2 separate regions of the Homo sapiens genome follow, and region 1 is linked to region 2. The links are contacts of gene promoters, found by promoter capture Hi-C in blood cells and fetal thymus (Javierre and others, 2016). All regions are on one chromosome and are shown on one strand. Each heading gives the region's core, a stretch centred on a gene start or on the middle of the fragment in contact. The rest is flanking DNA. Distances are from core to core; before and after follow the strand shown.

Region 1 (3,357 bases), core at 429-2,928, 1.5 Mb after region 2:
GGGCAGGAAATGTAGGATTGAGGGCCCCACACAAAGTCCCCACTGGAGCACTGACTAGTAGAGCTGTTAGAAGGGGGCCACCCTCCACCAGACCCCAGAATGGTACATCCACCAGTGGCTTGTGCCCTGTGCCTGAAAAAGCCAGAGGCACACAATTCTAATTTGTGATAGCAGCCCTGGGGGCTGAACCTTGCAAAGTCACAGCAGTGAAGCTGCCCAATACCTTGGAACCCTTGCCTTGCACCAATGTGCCCTGGATGTGAGACATGAAGTCAAAGGAGACTATTTTGAAGCTTTAAGATTTAATGACTGCCCTGCTGGGTTTTGAACTTGCATCAGGCCTCTAGCCCCTTTCTTTTGGAAAGTTTCTCCCTTTTGGAATGAAAATGTTTACCCAATGCCTACACCCTCATTGTATCTTAGAAGTAAATAACTTGTTTTGATTTTATGGCTTCAAAGGTGGAAGTAACTCATCTCCAGATAAAAATTAGGACTTTGGACTTTTGAATTAATGCTGGAATTAGTTAAGACTTTGGGAAACTGTTGGGAAGGAATTATTGTATTTTGCAATATGAGAAGGATATGAAATTTGGGGGACAAGAGGGGACCAGACAAGAGGTATTTAGATCATGGGGATGTATGTCTTCATGTATGTCTTGGGCCCCATGGTGATAAGTGAGCTTTCACTCAGTTCACACACGATCTGTTGGTTTAAAAGTATATGTTACCTCCCCCTGGCCAGCCATTCTTTCTCCCTTGCTCCTGCTTTCACCATGTGAAGTGCTGCTTCCACTTTGTCTTTTGCCATGATTTCAAACTTCATGAGGCTTCCTTAGAAACCAAGCAGATGCCAGCACCATGCTTCCTGTATAGCCTGCAAAACTGTGAGCCAATTAAATCTCTTTTCTTATAAATTACCCAGTCTCAGGTATCTATTTATAGCGGTGCAAGAATGGCCTAATACAAAAGATAGGCCATTACATTCTCTGTACTGTGCATATTCATTCATATGATGTAGATAAATCAGGGATACAGTCCCCAAGACACAAAATCATGATAGCTCATATGCAATGTTTTACAAGGTGACTATGATTTACACCACCTAGCAGCACCAAGTAAATGAAGAAATGCCGACCCCTTGAATGCAATGACCATGGGAGAAACACAAACACACCTCCTCATCTTTTCTCCCTTACCCCACTTGACCTGCAGGCTTTGCCCTATGAGTGTGTATACAGTGCTGTCCTCTCAAACTTTCTTGCTAAAAATATTTACTCCAACATCCCAAACAGGAATAAGCATCCTGAGCAGATGAATCCAAGTAGCAAATGAGAAGGGAATGCCTTAAGTCTTGAGAAGAAGCTTAAAACAACAAAACATTTTTTGGAACACTGAAACATTTACAAATACACAAGAGAACTTGTGATAGCACAAGAACAAGAGATCTAACAGAATCCATATTGTGTGCCATCAGTGACAATACATCTCAAATAAAAGAAAGCTATTCAGCAGGAACAACTATGAGAGCTGCAACATCTCTTGATTAAGCCTGAGGAAGGTATAAATAATGTTGATGATGATGTAGACCATGATAACAAAAGTCCAGTAACTGTCACCAGAGGGAAATATGCCACTATAATTGGGCTGATGTGCACCCACAGGTATTGAAAACAATTACCCCACTGAGCAAAGCACCCACTGCCTAGCAGTCTCCCATATCACTTGAGGCCATATATGCAGCTTCTTAAAGAAAGGAGAAAATGGCCTAACAACAACTTCTGCATTTCTATTTTAAATTAATGTAAAAGGTAAACAGGACAAACCATAGCACCTTTAGTGCAATAGCATTTTGTCCTACTATTTTCCTCCTTCTCCATAACTCAGAAGCCCCCACTGTGCACTTACGACTCACCAAGCAAACCTTGTGCTTTCTGTAAGGTGAAGCACTTATGTACCATGGTATTTTTTAAATTTTATAAGGGACTTGAGATTTTTAAAGCTTTTATTAGGGTTTTAGAAGAGTATTCCTTACTAGACTATACAGGTGTTGTGTTTCACCCAATTAAATTTTTCCCAGAAGGCTCATCATTTTTATTGCATGAAATTCTACATTACATTTATTTTTTAGAAAGATGTATATGGCACTGTAGGAGAAACAACTATATTATCTCATTTAATCCTCATCTTACCCCACTTTACAAGAGAAAACATTGGGTATGGTTTTCATTGAACATCAAAATCTCATATCTTGTACATATTCTCCCAAACTGTGTTCCCCGTCTTTCTTCTAATGTAATGTTAGCTGAGTTTCTCCACCATTCAAAAGCCTTTTCCTAGAACATCGTGATGAGAGAAATCACAAAGCGGTAGCTCCCAGCCCTGCTAAAAGGAGGAAACGTGCTTGGCATCCAAATGGAAACTGGTTTCTAGTACTTAGGTCAAAAGTTCATGTACACACACACACACACACACACACACACACACAGAGCGTTCTCAAGAGAAGTTCTTAAGGCCAAAAGAAAAAACAGAGAGACTACCAACACATAGATCCTAGAGTGAAAAAATCCAACTGGCAATCTGAACTAATGTAGGCAGTTTCCCCAAAGCGACTGATAACTATTGAGTTACTTTCCCCAGGGTCAGCTGCAGAGAAGGAATTAGAAAGACCAAGTTGGGGCCCTTCTCTACTCCTTTTAAATACCGCGTTTCTGTTGCTTGGAACTTTCATATTTCTGCATCAGACTGTTCTCCTTGCTATATTTCACACTCCCTCTGGCTTCACATCAGAAGAACAAGGTCAGTATTTGTTTGTAATGGAATAGGGGTGTGATGGTGAATAATACAGATGTATATTTTACTTGGAACAAATGCAGTTCACCTTTCTTCTCTGAGTAAACTGAGATCTTGAGAGAGGCTGCACTGCATAAGCCTTCAAAAGGAGGCCCTCCTTGGGTATTCCAAACATTTTATCAAGCCACAAGATCCTCTTGTTTCAAGCAAGAAGCACCTACAAAGAAAAAGACAGTTTCTGTAAGACACTTGGATTTTGGGTTTGTTAGTTCTTTTGGGGTGAATTTTTAATGTTAACAGAAAAACCAAACTACCTTGGTGGAATTGGGTGCCAGGAGGCATTAAATAAATGGATTCAAGTAAGTACATTTGCAATACCCTAGAATGGTACATTCTCTCAGGTCCTTTGCTTTGGGTTTTTCAGAGAGATTCAGAATACGTTTCTACGTTTATTTAAAGTAGAATGTTAAGGCCAAGATGAAGAGAATCAATTCTAATCAGCTTTTGAAGTAGAAACAGGACAGGATCAATCTTGCAGCACTCAACAGACTATCTCCCATTTGGAAC
Region 2 (3,574 bases), core at 273-2,772:
GCATGGAACATTCTTCAACAATATTAACTTTTCCTTGCTCTGGTTCTCTGCTTTTGATATTCTTATGTAAAAGTTTTCTCACGAGAAGTGAAATAAATCTCAGTGATTAGTTTTTCTTGTGTAGACTCTAGAAGAATATGTCATCATTTAATGAGAGAGAACACAGAAGCAATTTGCAAAGTCAAAGTAATACAGTTAATTATAGTCATGAGGTTCTTTTAGCTCAAATTCAGTCTTCTCATAATAAGCATTTCAATTGCAAATAAAAATGGATAGAGGTGAATGTCATAGGTGGCTACCTTATTTGAATGCTTGTATTTGAATGGCCACATATAGTCACACACTTTTTCTTCTGATTCTGCAAACATAACCTTGATTTTTTAGGCACTTTAAGAACTAAGTAGTTAAACAGAGAAAGTTTAAAGCATGACAATATGTTCAGAGTTAGGAAAAATTAGTAATTAAAGGAGGATGGGGAGGATTATTTAGAACTATGTTTCTTCTCCTGAAAACTTTCTCCCTTATTGGATTCTACTCTCAAGATCTATGTGTTCCCCAAGGGACACACAAAACAATCAATCAAACAAACAAAAACCATCAGATTTTGAGCATTAGAGCCTGGTGTTTACCTGCACAGTGTTGGTCCTTTTCCCATTAATATGTTGGAATAGCACAAACAGCCACTGCCACTTATTCAGTACCTAATATTAATCAGGCACTGCAGTATGTAGTTTACACATGATCCTTTAATCTTTAATAAACCCATTATGCAGATGGGGAAAATGAGACTTTGAGATACTAAAGTAACTTGCATAAGACAGCTCAGTCATTAAGTGCAGGGATGGCATGCAAACCAAATCTGACTTTTAAACGTTACTTCATCACCACAGCTGGAGGTGAGCTGCATCAGTACACAATTCCCAGTGAAGACAGGAAGTTACATAAGGAGGGAGAATTTGTGAGTGGGTGAATAGAGCAGAAGGTGACTTTACTAACGTCTTTCGCGCATTCATTAGCCCTCAGCATGCTTAAAGGTGAAGTTTAAGGATGATTAAAGGTGAGGTTTTCTTCTTACCCCACAGTAGTGGCTGTTGACATTTGATATTTTTGCTCTTAAAGGTGTGAGATGCTCTTTGCATTACAGCCTAGTGCCTTACAGGAAAGAATTTCAGAGAAACTAAAATTCGTTTTAGTCCATATTTCAAGTAGTGTGTTTTAGTCCATATTTCAAGTAGTGTGATGGTACTGCTTAACAATGAACAGACATTGCTGTTCCGGGTTAACAGGACTAAGAATTTGTTCCCACATTCGGTCAGCACCAAGGCTAAGGAACAGCTTCACTCTCTAATCTTTCCACGAAATAGCTGTCACCTTGCTCCGGTGCTGAAGTTCGGGATGCGGAACTAGCTGAGCATGCGTACTTCCTCCCTGCCGGCCCTCCCTCCGTCCCGTTGGCTCCGCCCTCCGCGGACGTGCTGCGTCAGAATGCGCCTCACCCCTGGCGACCCCGGAAGTGGGTCGGGGGCTTGGCCTCTGCCCGGCCACAGAGCCGGAGCTGGAGGTGCTGTCCCGTCTGGCGGCGATCCCCGGGCAGGGCCCGGGGCCGGGGTTTGAAGATGCTGAACGTCCCTTCCCAGTCTTTCCCGGCCCCCAGGTCGCAGCAGCGTGTCGCCTCCGGGGGGCGTAGCAAGGTAAGCGGGTGGCTCCGTGAGTCTCTCCCCTCGCTGCGTTTCGAGCTCTGGCAGTGTGTTCTCTTCTTCCGCCCCAACTCCCAGCTCCTGCACCCCTCTCTAAGCTGTCGTTCCCTGCTGTCCTTGCCTGCAACCTCTTTCTGATCCCACTTTGTCTACAGTCCCTAAACTCTCCTTACCTCCTCCCTTTCCCCTAGCAGTCCCTCTTCTTTCTGGTCCTTTATCCCGCTCTATCCGTTCCCTTCCTCCAAGTCCTTTCCCGCGATTTAAATTTATATGACAGAGCCAGGCACTGTGTTTGCGGTATTATAGGCTCTCGGTATTAGCCGCCTTCCCTCAACCTCATCTTCTCCCTGGTCTTTTGTTCTTCACTGCCTGAAGGAGTTGTACCACATCACTCGATGTGGGTTCCCTCGCAGGAGGGAAAGGCTTGGCAGTGGCGACAGTGACCGTCCGTGCAAGGATGGGGACTTCTGGAGTTGGGGAGCTAGGTCAGGTTTACAGACACTATCCAAGACATACTGCCTTTCTTTCTTCCTCTGGTACCTGATTGTTTTGTCATTGCCTTTTCTACTAGTATCACTTGCTAACTTCGAAGCAAATATAATAATACTCTTGAGTTCTTGTTGAGCACAGTTGCTGTTAGCAACAGGTGGAATACTGTACAGATATATTTTATATTTGCAGAATTCAATAAAAATTGTGTTCTTTGTTCTTTTGCGAATGTTGTTTGTTCCTATTTGTTAGTTCCTCATTCTGTAACCATATCTTTATCTTTCGTTTGTGACACTTCCACTTAACTTGGGCCACTCGGTTAACTCTTGAGTCTTAGCATCGTTTGGAACCCTTATCGATTTTCTTATTTTTCTCCACTTAGACCTGGCGTTCTGATTCTAGTTCAGAATGAATATAGGTTCAGGGATCTGTGGTTTTCATTAGCTTTCCAGAGATTTCTTAAGTACTTACGGGTGGCCGTGTATATTCTCAGTGCTTTGCATGTATTAACTTTAATTTTCACAATTATCCTTTGAAGTGAAAGCTTTTATTGTCTCTATTTCGCAGAAAAGGAAACTGGCTAAGAAATATTGCCCTAAATTGCGTAGGCTTGTGTTGTGGTTCTGCTGTGAAATTTCATTTACTGATTCATATATCAATCATCTAGCCATCCAATCATGTATATTTTTCTCATTGGTTTTTGACCTATTTCTTGAAGCTAAATACTTGACTGAATAACAGTCTTTCCAGAAAGAATCTCTGAATTAGAATATGAGTTACTGCCCTTCTTCGTTAAAAATACCAACTGTGTTCTTAGCATCCATTTAAAGGAGAAAACTTAGAAGCAAAGACAAAAAGTCACACAGGGGGCGATGGCAAAGGTGAGTTTTTGGTCCAAAAAGAGAACAAAATAAGATTATTGTGCAATTCTAAGGAAAAGTCAGACTCCAGTCTTCTTCCTCTTTTCTTTGTGAAACAAGATGATGCTGAGAATGTAAAAACTGAGTCAGGTTTGGATGAAATGGGTAGAGGTTGAGAAAATAGAACCAAGTTGGGAAGGTCGTGTATTATACAAAAGGTTCTCAAATAGTGTTGTTTCATTCAACAGCATTTAGTTATAATATTGATGAGAAAAAAAATTCGTTTTGGCCAGGGCCACTGTCTTTGGAGTTTGCATGCTCTGTGTCTGCGTGGGTTTTCTCTGGGTACTCTGGTTTCCTGCTACAGCCCAAAGATATGCAAGTTAGGTTAATTGGTGTGTCTAAATGGTCCCAGTCTGTGTGAATATTGGGTGTGTATGAGTGTGCCTTGCCATAGGATGGCATCCTGTCCAAGGTCGGTTCCTGCCTTGTGCCCTGAGCTACTGGGATAGGCTCTGACTACCTGTG

What was found. The method cuts DNA at HindIII sites, captures the fragments that hold promoters and counts their contacts. A CHiCAGO score of 5 or more calls a contact.
Region 1: a contact is called between a fragment that was not itself captured here and the fragment with the promoter of CYB5R4 in region 2, in 1 of 17 cell types (naive CD8 T cells). The highest score is 6.7, in naive CD8 T cells.

What each region holds. Positions count from the first base shown.
Region 1 is chr6:85,318,326-85,321,682 of GRCh38, forward strand. No RefSeq gene overlaps it. Among named protein-coding and RNA genes, the nearest start is that of LINC02535, 85 kb to the right of the region's middle. The HindIII fragment of the contact is 637 bases long and covers 1,361-1,997 here.
Region 2 is chr6:83,858,167-83,861,740 of GRCh38, forward strand. CYB5R4 (cytochrome b5 reductase 4) reads left to right here and starts at 1,523. Exons shown (of 16, transcript NM_016230.4): 1 at 1,523-1,691. The coding sequence starts at 1,617. The region is part of intron 3 of RIPPLY2-CYB5R4 (RIPPLY2-CYB5R4 readthrough); the gene reads left to right. RefSeq lists a silencer at 1,594-1,643. The HindIII fragment of the contact is 3,476 bases long and covers 1-2,728 here.